6 separate regions of the Homo sapiens genome follow, and regions 1, 2, 3, 4 and 5 are each linked to region 6. The links are contacts of gene promoters, found by promoter capture Hi-C in blood cells and fetal thymus (Javierre and others, 2016). All regions are on one chromosome and are shown on one strand. The core of a region is centred on a gene start or on the middle of the fragment in contact, and the rest is flanking DNA. Distances in the headings are between cores, read along the strand shown.

Region 1 (2,700 bases), core at 132-2,631, 880 kb before region 6:
TAGCTGGGATTACAGGTGTGCGCCACCACGCCTGGTTAATTTTTGTATTTTTAGTAGAGACGGGGTTTCACCATGATGGCCAGGCTTGTCTCAAACTACTGACCTCAAGTGATCTGCCCACCTCAGCTGCCCAAAGTGCTGGGATTACAGGCATGAGCCACCGTGTCCAGCCTCATTAATCTTTAAATCTAGTTTTCATGTTTTTACTTTTAAGTACTTTTTTTGTTTAATACTTTTTTTGGGAAATGAGGTCTGTCTTTGTTGCCTGGGCTGGTCTCAAACTCCTGGGTTCAGGTGAGCCTCCTGCCTAAGCCTCCCAAGTAGTTGGGACTAGAGGTGTAAGGCATCATGCCCTGCTTAACTTTAAATACTCTCAGAGATCCTAACCTGCTGTGTTTCTTTCTAATTGGCACCTTACAAACAACAACAACAACAATGAAGTAAACTTTTCTGGTGAGGCATTGTTGTATTACAAAACTTTTGTTCTTTAGTGCTTGCTGAACTCAAGAGAACATTCCTGATGATGAAATTGTGATTTTTGACTTAGAAAAGTAATCATGGCATCAAGCTTCTTAAGGCAAATACTATAATCAGATTAAATTGTTCTGTGTTTTAAATGTAAAATATACTTAACAAATGTAATAAGTCAATAAATATTGATTTTATTTCTGAGAAGTCAATGTTTCTACTTTCTTTTGAATAATAGCTGAAGTCTGGGATCAAGAGTTTGACCCCGTCATGGTCATTCTTCGAACAGTTTACCGTAGAGATGTGCAGTCTGCAATGGACAGATATACTGCATTGTAAGTCCATCAAATTGATTAGCATCATAACAGTATTTTATATTTATATGGAAAAATTTCAGTGATAACACAGATATGATATGCTCTCATTAAAGTATACTTTCATTCTTTAAAGGTGAAAATAATAATTTAAGGTTTAAAAAATAATCTGGTGGAGATTTATGTTAAGATCTTTATCCAAAATTTGATGTTAATCTGATAAATTTAGAACATGATCACTAAATTAAAAAACAGAAACTTATTTAGTTGCTGTTCCATCAGTGGAATTAAAGGCTTGGTTTTGTGTTGTTCTACTTTTGAACCAGTAGGGGAGGCACAAGTTAAGAGAATAGAATTCTCTGACATCAGAGATGGTGACGGGTGTCTGTAATAAGTGAACATATTTCTGTGTTCATGACAACTGGGAAAATAGCCAAAGCAAAATTAATTTTACTTGTAAATATTTAACAAAATAGTTTACGGTATTGATGACTGCAGAAGACAAAAATTTTGAAAGATATCTTTTAAATGCAGAATTCAATTTTGTATGTTATTGTAAATTGTAGACCATTGTAAATGTATTATTTCACCTCTTTTTAAACCTTAATAGTTAATATTATATTGCCAAATATCACAAGATATCATCTTTTACTTGTGCTTTCCTACAGCTAAAGTTAAACATTTAAAAAGCAAGTTTAAATGATGCAAATGTCCTTGATTTTGAGAAAGTATTAGTACTTATCCAGATAACTATCAAAGTGAAACTTCTCTTTTGCCAAGACTTTGCAGTAATAGAAATATCTATCACAGACAAATATCTGAAGAAAATTTTTAATGTGGAATTTTAATTCACTTCCTCCCCCAAACAAAACCAAAACGATCTTTAAATCAATAACAACAACAACAACAACAACAACAACCCAGTTCAGCCATCGGCATCTCTCTCTCCGTTTCTCTAAACCCTTGGAGAAATTAGACTGAGGTTCTCTTTCTCTGGTTTCTTAACTCCCTCTTTTTCTGCTTTTCATATAGTTTTGTAAAAATGTACTTGCTTGTAGTCTTTTACTTAACTCTTAGCTCCTTGAGGGAATATATTTTTATCTCTGTATCTCGTCTACATCTTTAATACTTATCTCAATTCTGGCACTTAGTAGGTATTCATAATATATTTGTTGAATAAATAAATTTGAGTAATTCCTGTTGAAAAATTGAAAAATGAAGAAAATTGGGAAGAAGCATTTGCATGGAAAACCTTATTGAGACTTCATAAACACCAGTCTTAAATGGCTCTGCCTTTTTTTCAGGGTAGTGATGATGGTTAGTTGTTTTGAATGTATAAGAATTAAGTAAATTTTATTCTCTTTTACTTTGTAGTTACTAGAAATTTGTACTGAGATTGGGCTGAAACTTTCAAAGCTTTGAAGGAATCATTAAATAATGTAATCAATTTTAAATGGGAAATTTTATTTAACAGTACATATTTATTGAATGCTCTGCCTCGGCCTCCCAAAGTGTTGGGATTACACACATGAGCCACCGTGCCTGGCCGATTTGTTTGCTATTGATCATTTTCATCTGCTTTTTAATTTTAAGGGACAAAAAGTGGCTTAACTGATTATACTGGGAGGGATCTTTTCTTATTTGTAAGCAGGCCTTTTGGAGGTCATCTTGCAAACTAAAATGAAAAATGGTCAGATAAATTTAAACTTTTGTGTTCTCACAATTTAGCTCTGTGCCAGGCACTTTAAAGGCAATCAGTAAATATTTGTTAAACGAATGAAAAGTAGATTTCTTTCAGTTTTTGTGCTGAGAGTTTAAGTGAAAGTAAGCCGTTTGCTTTATGTGATGCTTAGATGCTTAGAATTTTAGGCTCTTATTGCTGGAAAAGGCCTTTAAGATCTAGTCCAGGTTTTATAAA
Region 2 (2,700 bases), core at 192-2,691, 590 kb before region 6:
GGCATAATAAAAGGGTTAATCTAAAAGTCAAGATCAGTAGAATTTTTTTTTAAAAGATGGGGTCTTACCATGTTGCCCAGGCTGGTCTCCAACTCCTAAGCTCAAGCATTCCTTCTGCTTCAGCCTCCCGAGTAGCTGGGACTACAGGGCATGCCCCAACATGCCTGGCTTAAGATCAGAACAATTTTTTATAAACTAAACACACTGTATGTGAGTAGCATACTGTGACTACAGGAAAGATTATCTTAAGAGAGAAAGAAAAATTTCACATGGAGACTATTTAGGAGATTATCATGAGCAAAATAACTTGAACAATAGATAATTAAGTTTCTCGTATAATAAGATCAGAGGTAGTTTGTTCCGGAGTTTGTTGATTTAGCAGCTCATAATAATAGAGTCATGAAAACTTCCGATTTTTAAATCTCCCTGGCTATGACTGCTGCAAGCTGCATGGCTTCATTGTTCTGGGACTGACTTTAGGGCAGTTATGACAACAGTGCCTGTGAATATCTGAGGGGCAGTAGTGGCTCCAACATGCCAATAGCCACAGGTGAAGGCACTCATGGTGCAACCAAACAGCGAGAAGTTAAAGTGGGTTTTCCTCCTCTCTTGGGGTTGAAGACTTTTCCACCCTATATTTATTTTCCCGGTCTGCTGTAATCAAGTAGTACAAACTGGGTAGCTTTAAACAACAGAAATATATTATCTCACACTTCTGGAGGCTAGAAATCTGAAACCAAGATGCCAGCAGGCTTCCTCTGAAGCCTCTAGGGGAGGGATCTTGCTTTGTCTCTTCCCAGCTACTGGAGGTTTGCTGGTGATCTTTGGTGTTCCCTGGCTTGCAAGCTGCGTAACTCCAGTCTCTGCCTTTGTAGTGCCGTGGTATTTTCTCTGTGTGTCTTCACATGTCCATGACTTCTTATAAGAACACCAGTCCCGTCGGATTAGAGGCCCACCCTACTCCAGTATGACCTCATCTGAATTCAACTAATTGTATATACAGTGACCCTATTTCCAAATAAGTTCACGTTCTGAGATTCTGGGGGCTAGGACTTAAATGTATCTTTTTTTTGGAGGACACAGTTCAACCAATAACAAGCTCCCAAATACTAATATTTAGCACCCTTCCTTTGTATTAAATCATTCAAGTTTCCAAGGTAATTAGTCAACTATTTAGAACCTGCAGGGCTGCAGGTTATAGATGCTAGCATAGTGAGAGGCTCAGCTTTGCCTGTTTACACACACATACACAACCACCTCCCCTACTCCACACACACCACACACATAGACTGTCTGCACTCTCTCAGCCTTTGGTGTTTGAGGCAAACGTGGTTCTTTCTGAAGGTACAAAGCATACCAAATTGCCTTCCTGTGTGGGCGCCCAACACCCCCAGACTTTTGTTCTCTCCTACCTACTCTCAGGCAAAGCATTTTTAAAATTATTATTATCTCCTGAGATGTTTGGCCAGCTCATAGTCACTTCCTTGAACCTTCTCTTTACCTGATTAAGCCTCTCTGGTCTCCTGACCTAAAACTTTAGCCTGCATTTTATGCACTTAAAAAAACTCACAAAAACAACACAGTCTTCCTATTAGCCATGTTTATTATCTCTTTTCTCCTCCACTATCTCCTGACAGCCAATTTCTTATAGTAAGTAATATGAATAATAGTATCCCACATTTGCGTAGAATTTTTACAAATAGTATTTTAAAAACACTGTCATCTACCTGTGAGAGTGCCACTCGGGCATGATTACATTGATGTTGTAGATAAAGAATCTAAGGCTTTGTCAGGCCAAGTGTCCATAGACACAGAGTGGGTAGGTGGGTAATGGTGACTGGAATCCATATTTTGTGACTTATTCAACTAAGGGATTTCCAATGTAACCCGTGTCCGCTGTTAATATTGCTCAACCAATTTTTATATCAAACACATGCCAGGTAATATCCTGGCCTATAGCAAAAGGGATACAAGCCTAGTTTATGTTGATTAATGGTAATGGCAGGGGGTTAGGGGTAGTTGATACCTAAAAAACTTTTTCTACCATCACATATAGCAAAGAATTAAACTCAGTGTTTGTAAGTGACTGAAACCCAAGAGAAAGAACCAATGTTGTCATTATCGTTTTTATTGAGGACACCAGTAGACTTTGAAAATAATGGCTTATATTTAGCTGATGTACACTGTGTGGCCAGGCTGGTTGTTAAGATATTAAACTATTCATTCTGGATGGTAAATGGCTGCCATCCAGAGCCCCTTGAGTGCTCCTCAGCCACCAGAGGTGCCCTGTCTTTTACCCTGGGACATTTCTGACCTGATGATCCAGTAACTATGGGGGGAAAGGTCTGTTTGACAAGCAGGGATGGCCAGTGCCACATGCCACCTGATTGTCAGATATTTTGAACATTGCACTTGCTAAGCAGAGGCATAGTGGGAAGGAAACTTTCACTTACTGAGGACTGACTCTATACCAGGGACTATGATAGGGGCTTTTAAAATATTTTATTTCATTTTCACAACAGCTCTCAATAGTGGATGTTATTTTCTCCATTTGATCACTGAGGAAAGTGAGGCTTAAAGAGCTATAGGAGGAATCGAGCCCAAATTCACATACCTAGTAAATATTGAAGCTGTTTGGCTTTTCAGAGAGCATGGGAATGCAAGTCCCATTTTGCAGATGAAGAAACCAAGGCAGGGAAA
Region 3 (2,700 bases), core at 201-2,700, 620 kb after region 6:
TATCTTTTCTGGGTTCCAGTTTTCTCAGTGACAGCTGCATTCATGAATTACCAAATTAACTATTGTAGCACTCTCTAAAAATATACAAAGCACTCTACCGTATGCTGTAAATAAGTCATGAAAAATCAGCAAAAGCTCGAGCCCTGAAGGAAATTCAGCAGGGTTAAAAAGAGATATGGCCAATGTTTACTAAACACTTAAACTGTGACCCAACACACTCACCCAGTACTGTAAGTACTCACTTAATGTCATCAACAGATTTTTGGAAACTGACTGTAAGCAAAATGACATATAACAAAACCATTTTTACCATAGGCCAATTGATATAAACAAAAGTTAAGTTCCTATAACATATTTCTGGTCACAAAAACATCACCAAACTCCTAAATACAAACCAAAACACTTCTAATATTAAACATTGAAATAAATGGGAGCTATACATACATTTAAGGAAGATTAATAAAAACAAGTAAGATAGTTATTTACCTAATTATTCCAGTTCAGGGTCGAGGGTGGCTGAAGCCTATCCCCTCAGCTCAGGGTGCAAGGTGGGAACCAACCCTTGGACACGACGACATTCCATCGCAGGGAGCACTCACACTCACACTCAGACAGGAAACACAGACAAGGCCAATTCATCCAGCCTGCACTGAGATGTGGGAGGCAGTACCCTGGGGTACCTGGTGAAAACCCATGCAGACGTGGGGAGAAGGGGCAAGATCCACACAAACAGTAGCCCCGGTAGGAAATTATTATTTTTTCTCATCAAGTTATACAAAATGACACTGAACGAAAAAATGCGATTCAAGGACCTGCTGTACTGTACTTTTTGCTCTGCCAGTCAGGTGCGATCGCTGGCTTTCTTTGAGCACCTATGAACAAGAGGTAGCATGCCCAAGTCCACGTGGGAGATACAGCGGCCCCACCCTTAAGGGACTTAGAGCATGGCGGTGGGACACATGTGGTGCAAGCTTGCTGAAAGTTTAGTGTGCTGGGAACTTTGAACATACAGGCAGGGCTAGTTAACAAAGTATATCTTTTACTTAGAGACATCGACGAGGAATATCTTAGGCCGTCCAATAAGAATGTAAGCATTTCATATTTTATTCCCTATAAAGAAAAAAGAATGGAGGCGAGAGGAAATGAAATGAAGCAATTATCGCAAAACCAGTCAGTGTCCCCGCAGGCCACCCAAGGACAAGCCTCCGGGAAAGAGTAACTCAATCCCAGTTTGGAGGGTGAAACTAAGAGTGAATGGGAAGCCAGCATCTTCCTAATACAAAAGCACAGTTTACCGTCCCCCTCAGCCAACATGCGGCTGAAGGGAAAGCCGCGGGGCGTACCTTTAGCACGGGACGCTGCTTTGGGGGGATCGCCCTCGACACAGCGCCCCTCCCGGCACCTGGCCAGAACCTCCCAGGGCGAAGGTCGGGGCCGAGAAGCTTGTGAGTACCGGGGCAGTGAGGGAGGGATCCCTAAGTGCAGGGCGCACACACGGGGCGGAGACCTGGAGGCGGCAGCACCGCGCCCCCAGGGCTCTGCCCAGCTAGCCACTCGCAGCACAGAGAAGCGCGCCCGCAAGACAGCGCAGCCTCCGCGGGCCGGAGGAGGCGGGGCCGCGGCAGGCAGAGGCAGGGCCGGGCAAGCCCTCGCTCCCCGCCGCCTGACGGGAATTGTAGTTCCTGGGAGAAGCCGGGCTGCCTCACGAGGCACTAGGAACTACATTTCCCGGTGAGAGAGCGGCTCCGGCCGGCCGCGCGGTACCGGAGCGTCGCACTGTCAGCGGCCAGAGAGCCTGGGGCAGATCGAAAAGGGAGTGCTTCTTCCCTTCTCTCCGCGCTCTGGCGGTGCAAGCGGCTCTGCTTTCCCTCGCCCCGCCGTCGGGTGCTCCCTGCCCGCCTCCCCGTGTCAGCTTTCCCTGGGCCCCGCCGGGAAAGTCTGGGCCTCGAAATTCGAAGGCAGCGGCGGCTGCCCAGCACGGGAGTGTGGGGCGCGCCACTCGGCGGCCCAGCCTACCCAGGGCCCGGCCCGCGCCTCCATGGGCCCGACCCGGAAGCCCAACGTGTGCAGCCGGCTGAGTCGCCGGGCGCTGGGCTGCTTCTCGCGCGACGCAGGCGTGGTGCAGAGGACCAACCTGGGCATCCTGCGGGCGCTGGTGTGCCAGGTGACCGCCAGCCGGCCGGGGCGGGACGGAGGGCCGCGGGCGCGCGGCGGCCGAGCCTCCTGCGGGGATGCGGTTTTAACGCGCTGGGGCCTCCCTTTATAGGGTCACATGTGATGGGGAGGAGGATACAAGCCCGGAATCTGGGATAGGTGGTAATAGGGCCACCAGCTGCTTTTAGTTTTACGCTTCTTATGTCTTACCTGGAAACAATTATTCTAAAAGTTGGTCACCTCATTAAGCCAAAACATGAGGGCAGAGTGGAGGAAGGATGCAAAAAGTTTTAAAATAATATAGGTGACATTATGTTGCTTTGAAAATTTAAAATCTAACTTAAAGCCTAAGAGTTCTTTCCTGAACGGAAATTCTTTATGTCTTTTAGGAAAGTACTAAATTTAAGAATGTCTGGACAACTCATTCCAGGTCACCTATAGCCTATGAGAGAGGAAGAATATATTTTGACAATTATCGGCGCTGTGTCAGCAGGTAACTTTTTATTGATAATTTTGCTGTAATTCACCTCACTGTTGATCTTAACT
Region 4 (2,700 bases), core at 96-2,595, 560 kb before region 6:
AATCTAGAGGAAATGGATAAATTCCTGGAAATGTACAACCTCCCAAAATTGAATCAGAAATTAATTGAAACCCTAAACAGATCAATAACAAGTTCTGAAATTGAATCACTATTTAAAAATTTTAAAAACCTGGCAACCTAAAAAGCTATGGACTAGATGGATTCCCAGCTGAATTCTACCAGACAGACAAAGAGCTGGTACCAATCCTACTGAAATTATCCACAAAAGTCAAGGAGGACAGACTCCTCCCTAACTTATTCTATGAAGCCAGCATCATTCTGATACCAATGAGACAGTGAAAAAAGAAAACGTCAGGCCAGTATCCCTGATGAATATAGATACAAAAATCCTCAACAAAATACTGGCAAACTGAATCTGGCAGAACATCAGAAAGTTAATTCATTACAATCAGGTAGGCTTTCTTCCTGAGATGCAAGGTGGGTTCAACATATGCAAATCAATAAATGTGATTCACCACATAAACAGAATTAAAAGAAAAAATCATATGATCATCTCAATAGATATAGAAAAAGCTTCTGATAAAATCCGATATTCAGTTAAGACAAAAATCCTCAAAAAACTAGGCATCAAAGGAACATCCTGAAAATAATGAGTCATCTATGACAAACCCACAGCCAACATGATACTGAATGGGAAAAAGCTGGAAGCATTTCCCTTAAGAACTGGAACAAGACAATGATGCCCACGTTCACTACTTCTATATGTCATAGTATTGGAAGTTCTAGCCAGAGCAGTCAGAGGAGAAAACGAAATAAAAGGCATCCATATAGGAAAAGCAAAAGACAAATTATCTCTCTTCACTGATGATATGATTTGATACCTAGAAAACCTTAAACCTTAAAGACTCCACCTAAAAGGCTCCTAGAACTGATAAACGACTTCAGTAAAGCTTCAGGATACAAAATTATCGTACAAAAATCAGTAGTATTTCTATACACCAGTCTTGTTCAAACTGAGAGCCAAATCAAGAACACTGTCCAATTTACAATACACACACACAACCTAGGAATTCATCTAACCAAGGAGGTGAAAGATCTCTACGAGGATAACTAAAAATGAAACACTGCTGAAAGAAATCATAGATGACACAAACAAATGGAAAAACATTCCATGCTCATGGACTGGAAAAATCAGTGTTGTTAAAAAGGCCATTCTGTCCCTTAGCAATCTATAGATTCAACACTATTCCTATGAAACTACCGATGTCATTTTTCATAGAATTATAAAAAACTATTCTAACATTTATATGGAACAAAAAAAGAGCCCAAATAGCTGAAGCAATCCTAAGCAAAAAGAACACAGCCAGAGGCATCACGTCACTCAACTTCAAACTATACTGCAAGGTTACAGTAGCCAAAAAGCATGGTACTGGTATAAAAACAGTCACATACACCAATGGAACAGAATAGATTACCCAGAAATAAAGCCACTATAACCATCTAATCTTCAACAAAGTCAACACAAATAAGCAATGGGGAAAGGACTCCCTTTTCAATAAATCGTGCTTGGATAACTGGCTATCCTTTTGCAGAAGAATGAAGCTAGACTCCTACCTATTACCATATACAAAAATTAACTCAGGATGGATTAAAAACTTAGGACCTAAAACTATAAAAATCCAACTGGAAGCCTAGGAAATGCTATTATGGACATTGGCCTTGGCAAAGAATTTATGACAAAGTCCTCAAAAGTAGTTGCAATGAAAACACAAATAGACAAGTGGGACATAATTAAACACAAATTGATAAGTGGGACACATTAAGCTTTTGCATAGCAAAATAAAATATCAATAAATGGATAACTTACAGAATGGGAGAATATATTCACCAACTATGCATCCACAAAGGTCAAATATCCAGAATGTGTAAGGAACTTAAATAATCTAACAAGCAAAAAACATATAACCCCCTTAAAAAGTGGGCAAAGGACATGAAGAGATAGATACATCTCAGAAGAAGACACACAAGCAGCCAACAAACATGAAAAAAAAAAAGCTCAACACCACTAATCATCAGACAAATGCAAATCAAAACAACAATGAAATATCTCACATTAGTCAGAATGGCTATTATTAAAAAGTCAAAAAATAACATGTTGGTGAGGCTGCAGAGAAAAGGGAATGCTCATACACTATTGATGGGAATGTAAATTAGTTAAGCAGTGGAAAGCAGTTTTGAGATTTCTCAAAGAACTAAAAGAAGAACGACCATTCAACCCAGCAATCCCATTACTGGGTATATGCCCAAAGGAAAAGAAATCATTCTACCAAAAAGACACATGTGCATGTATGTTAATTGCAGCACCATTCACAATAGCAAAGACATAGGTGCCCATCAGTGGTGGATTGGATAAAGAAAATGTGGTACATATATATCATGGAATACTATGCAGCCATAAAAAGGGATAAAATCATGTTCTTTGCAGCAGCATGGATGCAGCTGGATGCTATTATCCTAAGTGAATTAGTGCAGAAACAGAAAACTAAATGCCATATGTTATCACTTAAAAGTGGCAGCTAAACATTGGGTACACACAGACATAAAGATTGGAACAGTAGACACTGGGGACTACTGGAGTTGGGAGAGGAGAAGAAGGGTTGAAAAACCACCTATTGGGTACTGTGCTCACTACTTGGGTGATGGGACCAATTGTATCCCAAACTGAAGCATCACACACTAT
Region 5 (2,700 bases), core at 126-2,625, 570 kb before region 6:
GTAAAGGTGAAACGGAGAGAGTTTGGATAACAAAAAGGAGAAATCAGATTTTTGGGAACCCAGGGTCTGGATCCTTGTGGACTGCCTGGATGCTGTGGGTAGTGGGGCAGATGGGCAAGTCACTGCTTGAAATATTTGTGTGTCTATTTGAAGAGCTTCCTCAGGGACTCAGTGCCTACAATCGACTCTCATCCTGAAATAGGATCCTTGGGCTAAATTTTTATCTTACATAGGCATTTTTTTTTTTAAGATTCCTTTTGATGCTGACTTTCCTAATTCACAAACCAAATTGTTCCTATATGGGAAGCAGTAGTCTCTGCCTGCTCCTCCGCTGTGAGATGCAGAGGCAGCAGGGAGCCCTGAGTCACCAGTAATTGTCTCACTATTACAGAATTGTCACAGGACATTTTCCTTTAGGGCTGTGAAATATAAAGGAAAGAAATTAAAACTAAACTATTGTTGAAGTGTAATGAGTGAGGGGTGCTGAGTGTTTAATGGCACAGTGAGGCTGGATTTGCCCTGGGGAGTATTGGTTTCTCTTCACCAACCCAGGTCACTTAGCTATTGGCCTTTTGAGCAATGAATCCCCACGATCCAAGCTTCACTCATAAAGCAAGAAGTGCTAGAAGAATTAGCATCATTTAGCATTTATTGAGTGCCTAATAGCAAAAAAAAAGTTTTAAAATATTCCAATAGAAAAACAGTTATGTTTTATGTATCTTTTTCTTTCTTTGAGAGATTTCTAATCCCATTTTTAATGGATTGCCTTCAGTATGTACCCTGTTCCAGATCCCCAGAATATCTTCTGGGCCCAGGACTTGACACTCCCTTTCCGTGGGAACCCAGTAGCTGGAGGCATCTGGCAGAAATGCCCCAGAAGGCTTTCACTCTGTGGAACACATTGCCAAATTATTTTTAAATTCGAGTTGAGCAGCTGGGGCCATTCAGTCCTATGTAGGTACTGCTTGCTGCCCCCTGCCTGAGTCCTGGCAGGCAGGGAGAATTTAGCTTTGCAAGGTTTCATTTGGGGATCAGGTGACAAAGCAGGAGCATGCCTTCAGGGACTTTGGGTCCCCACCACTACTGAGTAAGAAGCTCACCCTGAGAGACAGGCCAAAGGTGCGAGGGGTTGATTCCCAGCGCTATCTGTGCCTTCTTCTCATTACCCTGGTATATTATTTTGGCACAACTGACTGTGGCTAATTCCAACCCACCTCCTAAATGATGGAGAGATGGGCAAAGAAGTAGGCAAGGAAACAGAGCTCAAAATTGTGCTAGAGTTGAGGCACCCTGGTTTCCTCTCTACTCCAGAAAAAACTAAGGAATAAAGGTGAGGAATAATTATAACTGCCTTTATGGGTTGGCATAATGGTAGGGGCAGGGGTAAGACAGGGATGAGGAGCAATGAGGTGATAGTCTAAAGGAAGGTTCTTCACAGCTGGAGCTATCCATTCCTGGAGGATCCTAGAGTCAAGTGAAGCCAGTATCATTTGAAGGAAAATATAGTATAGTGGTCCAGCATGGTTGTTTGTATCAGTTAACTACTAGTATGTAACAAACCATCCCCAAACTTAGTTGCTTAAACAACAAACATTTATGATTTTTCATGAGTCTATGGGTTTCTCTGGGTGGTTCTGCAGATCTTGGCTGGGCTTGCTCATGCATCTGTGATCAGCTGAGAATGTGGCTGTGTTGGTTGGTCTAGGATAGCCTTGGCTAGGATGACTTGGCTCTGGTCCATGTTGTTTCTTATCTTCCAGCAGGCTAGCCTGAGGTAGTTCTCATATTGGTGACAGGGTTCTAAGCACAGATAGAGGAAGGAACAGAAAATTGGACCAGTTTTGCTCTCAAGTTATTACAGTGTTCTACAGTCAATCTACACGGGTTCAACTAGCAGCTCCATCACTTTCAAGTTCACCAGTGTGAACTTGACCAAGTTACTGCATGTCTGTGTGTGTCAGTGTCCTCCCTTATAAAATGAGGATTTGAGTAATGTCGACCTCATAGAGCTATTGTGGGAGTTAAAGAATGTAAATTGGTCAGAATATTTCATAGTAAGCATTCAATTCATGCTGGATGCTACCAAGGAAAATATCTCAAGGGCATATTTATACTGTAAGGAATTTTCTTTCCCTTGTAGCTGAAGAATTGAAAGCTTCTATTCAAAAAGAGCCACCCATGAGATCAGTCATTTGAAAGTTCAGCTAATTGATTGATTGATGATTGTATGAGGAATTAAGAGAGAATGAAGGCTGATTTCTGAAGTCCCTACTACTTACATTGCATCTATGTGAAGGACTCTGCCATTAGTATCCATTGTCACAACTCCTTTGTAAATAGACACACTCTTAAGAGATACGGTCACATACACCTCACCCTCACACACATACATGAATGCTGTGACAGGAACTGCACATGAGGAAGCAGGGCTGGCCTTAGTCTCCACTGCCATGATGTCTACAACGAGTGGTGATGCTGTCATCCTCTGAAGAGAACTAGGGCCATGGTACTTTTCCTTTGCTATCAGTTCTATCAGTTTTTGTGGTGGTTTTGTGCTCGGTTGATGAGTCGTATGACTGGTCTTGGCTGCCTCCTTCTATAGGGTCCTTTTAGCCCCCTTAGTAGGTTCAACCTTCTCCAGGGTTCTAGAAATTTTTTTGTCTGCAGATAAAGGGACAATAGCAAGAGTTCTAAACTTAG
Region 6 (2,700 bases), core at 13-2,512:
CTGGGGAGAGGGGGAGGACCACGGTAAATACCAGTAAAGGAATCACTGCCTACACGGTGTCACCCAGACACGCACAGACATCAACATTTTTGCCCTAAAGAAAAAAACTGGGGGAGAAGAAAGGGGAGAACTTAAACTAGTGACAGGGCGGTGAGGGAAGGCATGAAGAGGCAAGCCGGCGCGTAACCGTCTGGCCAGCAGCTCCAGGTGTGGGCTCCGCTCGGGCGCTGGCGGAGAGACCCGGGAGCGCAGGGCCTCTCCGTCTCTGGGCTCTTGGCGCCCTCTGGTGGGAATTTCTCTTTCAACGCATTTTTACGGCGAGGGGCTTCTCCCAACGCAGCGGTTCTTTTAACTACGCCTAAATATTGCAAAGGGAGAATCCTTAAAGCGCGTGAAATCGAAGGGGGAGCGGGCCAGGGCAAGGGGGGCTGGTCCGCCCCTTCCGGGCACCTCTGTGCTCGGGTGCCCCATGCGCGTGCAGCGGCGCTCGTGCGTGTCATCAACCTTCAAACGTGATTAATCAGGAGGCCTTCTTTTCCCATCACCAAGGGGGCCAAAGCGAGGAGCGAGCGCATAGCAAAAGGGACGCGGGGTCCTTTTCTCTGCCGGTGGCACTGGGTAGCTGTGGCCAGGTGTGGTACTTTGATGGGGCCCAGGGCTGGATGAGGAAACTGTAATTCCTCCATGGTCTAAGAGGTCTCCCCTCATTTCTGCCTCCTTTGCGGTTACAACAATCCCAGCTCCGTAGAGAGCCAACGAGGACACGACCCAAAGCGCGCTTTCGCTCAAGGAAGCGTCGCAGGGTCACAGATCTGGGGGAACCCCGGGGAAAAGCACTGAGGCAAAACCGCCGCTCGTCTCCTACAATATATGGGAGGGGGAGGGGAAATGGGAGAGGGGAAAGGAGGGGAGGGAAGAAGAAACGCTCAGAAAGGCAGAATTCTTCGTAGGAATTATCTTTTCCCTCCTCTCACCCGACAGCCTGCCTATTTCCAAAGGAAAAAAAAAAAGCGTGTTGAGTACGTTCTGGATTACTCATAAGACCTTTTTTTTTTCCTTCCGGGCGCAAAACCGTGAGCTGGATTTATAATCGCCCTATAAAGCTCCAGAGGCGGTCAGGCACCTGCAGAGGAGCCCCGCCGCTCCGCCGACTAGCTGCCCCCGCGAGCAACGGCCTCGTGATTTCCCCGCCGATCCGGTCCCCGCCTCCCCACTCTGCCCCCGCCTACCCCGGAGCCGTGCAGCCGCCTCTCCGAATCTCTCTCTTCTCCTGGCGCTCGCGTGCGAGAGGGAACTAGCGAGAACGAGGAAGCAGCTGGAGGTGACGCCGGGCAGATTACGCCTGTCAGGGCCGAGCCGAGCGGATCGCTGGGCGCTGTGCAGAGGAAAGGCGGGAGTGCCCGGCTCGCTGTCGCAGAGCCGAGGTGGGTAAGCTAGCGACCACCTGGACTTCCCAGCGCCCAACCGTGGCTTTTCAGCCAGGTCCTCTCCTCCCGCGGCTTCTCAACCAACCCCATCCCAGCGCCGGCCACCCAACCTCCCGAAATGAGTGCTTCCTGCCCGCCCTAGTCCCTGCTCTCCACGGGTGCGCTGCGCAGGGACCCCCCCCCCCCCGCCTCCCTCGTCACTCTTCTTATCCCTGCCCTCCGGATTCACGCCCCGGGGAAGCACGGAGGCTGAGGCTCTAGTTGAAGTGGGGCAAGAGCGATTTTCCCTTGAGCTTCCATGCTGCGAGCGCCTGTCCCTCCAAAGGGCGCCTGGGCAGCAGCAGCCGAAGGCGCTACTAGGAACGGTAACCTGTTACTTTTCCAGGGGCCGTAGTCGACCCGCTGCCCGAGTTGCTGTGCGACTGCGCGCGCGGGGCTAGGAGTGAGGTCGGAGGGAGGGTGTGGAGGCGATGGCCGGTGGGCCCTTCTCTGTGGGGTCCTCGATCTACCCAGATTAGCCCGCAATCTCTCTGTCCCGGGGCCTTCGGGCGCCATCGCGCCAGCGCCGAGAGTCGAGCAGGGGCGCCGCGCAAGATCTTTGTCCGCCGCCTCCTGCGCGCTGCGCGCAAGTTCGTTTCCCCGGTGACGTTCCCCATGCTTACTTACCCCACCCTCTCTGGATCTGTACCGCGAGAAATCTGGGGTCCTCAGGGGGCTAGGTAGAGGAGAAACGCTGAAACCGGACCGAAACCTCGCCCTAGGCTTAGCGATGGCTAAAAACCGGCTGGGATAAGAGGGAGGCAAGCAACATTCCGACTCGCTGCTTTCTGGCTGTCTGGAGTGCAAGGTGACTGTGGTTCTTCTCTGGCCAAGTCCGAGGGAGAACGTAAAGATATGGGCCTTTTTCCCCCTCTCACCTTGTCTCACCAAAGTCCCTAGTCCCCGGAGCAGTTAGCCTCTTTCTTTCCAGGGAATTAGCCAGACACAACAACGGGAACCAGACACCGAACCAGACATGCCCGCCCCGTGCGCCCTCCCCCCGCTGGCCCACACGCCGGCTGCTGAGTGCCCAATGGGGCTTGTAGCGGCTCGGCTGGAAAATCGCTCACTGAGCGCTCCCCTGTGCTCCTAGCCTAGTCCCCCACACCCTTGCGTCTTGTACTGGCCTTGGACCCCCACCCCGACCCCGACCCCGCCTCGTCTCGGCGCTTCACTCCAGGTCGCGCCGATGCACCGCCAGACTCGAGAGCGGCCCAGGGCTACGCTCCCTGCG

The links. Contacts are between HindIII fragments. The CHiCAGO score rates a contact against its expected background, and 5 or more counts as called.
Region 1: a contact is called between a fragment that was not itself captured here and the fragment with the promoter of GAD1 in region 6, in 1 of 17 cell types (megakaryocytes). The highest score is 10.3, in megakaryocytes.
Region 2: a fragment that was not itself captured here is called in contact with the fragment with the promoter of GAD1 in region 6 in 1 of 17 cell types (megakaryocytes); the score reaches 5.3 in megakaryocytes.
Region 3: the fragment with the promoter of METTL8 here is called in contact with the fragment with the promoter of GAD1 in region 6 in 3 of 17 cell types (naive CD8 T cells, activated CD4 T cells and fetal thymus); the score reaches 8.3 in naive CD8 T cells.
Region 4: a fragment that was not itself captured here is called in contact with the fragment with the promoter of GAD1 in region 6 in 2 of 17 cell types (megakaryocytes and endothelial precursors); the score reaches 5.7 in megakaryocytes.
Region 5: a contact is called between a fragment that was not itself captured here and the fragment with the promoter of GAD1 in region 6, in 6 of 17 cell types (megakaryocytes, erythroblasts, fetal thymus and 3 more). The highest score is 10.9, in megakaryocytes.

What each region holds. Positions count from the first base shown.
Region 1 is chr2:169,932,206-169,934,905 of GRCh38, forward strand. UBR3 (ubiquitin protein ligase E3 component n-recognin 3) reads left to right here. Exons shown (of 39, transcript NM_172070.4): 19 at 707-803. Among named protein-coding and RNA genes, the nearest start is that of UBR3, 110 kb to the left of the region's middle. The HindIII fragment of the contact is 1,630 bases long and covers 567-2,196 here.
Region 2 is chr2:170,221,698-170,224,397 of GRCh38, forward strand. All of the region lies in intron 6 of MYO3B (myosin IIIB), which reads left to right. Among named protein-coding and RNA genes, the nearest start is that of MYO3B, 45 kb to the left of the region's middle. RefSeq lists enhancers at 1-495, 91-591. The HindIII fragment of the contact is 3,525 bases long and covers 1-2,700 here.
Region 3 is chr2:171,432,540-171,435,239 of GRCh38, forward strand. METTL8 (methyltransferase 8, tRNA N3-cytidine) reads right to left here and starts at 1,451. Exons shown (of 10, transcript NM_001321154.2): 1 at 1,344-1,451. It overlaps DCAF17 (DDB1 and CUL4 associated factor 17), which reads left to right and starts at 1,687. Exons shown (of 14, transcript NM_025000.4): 1 at 1,687-2,164; 2 at 2,544-2,647. The coding sequence starts at 2,039. RefSeq lists enhancers at 685-854, 832-1,392, 1,065-1,134, 1,954-2,513 and a silencer at 1,445-2,354. The HindIII fragment of the contact is 4,328 bases long and covers 1,441-2,700 here.
Region 4 is chr2:170,257,959-170,260,658 of GRCh38, forward strand. The region is part of intron 7 of MYO3B (myosin IIIB); the gene reads left to right. Among named protein-coding and RNA genes, the nearest start is that of MYO3B, 81 kb to the left of the region's middle. The HindIII fragment of the contact is 874 bases long and covers 909-1,782 here.
Region 5 is chr2:170,241,589-170,244,288 of GRCh38, forward strand. All of the region lies in intron 7 of MYO3B (myosin IIIB), which reads left to right. Among named protein-coding and RNA genes, the nearest start is that of MYO3B, 65 kb to the left of the region's middle. The HindIII fragment of the contact is 1,556 bases long and covers 598-2,153 here.
Region 6 is chr2:170,815,625-170,818,324 of GRCh38, forward strand. GAD1 (glutamate decarboxylase 1) reads left to right here and starts at 1,263. Exons shown (of 17, transcript NM_000817.3): 1 at 1,263-1,424. It overlaps GAD1-AS1 (GAD1 antisense RNA 1), which reads right to left. Exons shown (of 4, transcript NR_197761.1): 2 at 2,094-2,291; 3 at 1,230-1,408; 4 at 1-861. RefSeq lists a silencer at 1,078-1,157 and enhancers at 1,245-1,414, 2,654-2,700. The HindIII fragment of the contact is 11,655 bases long and covers 1-2,700 here.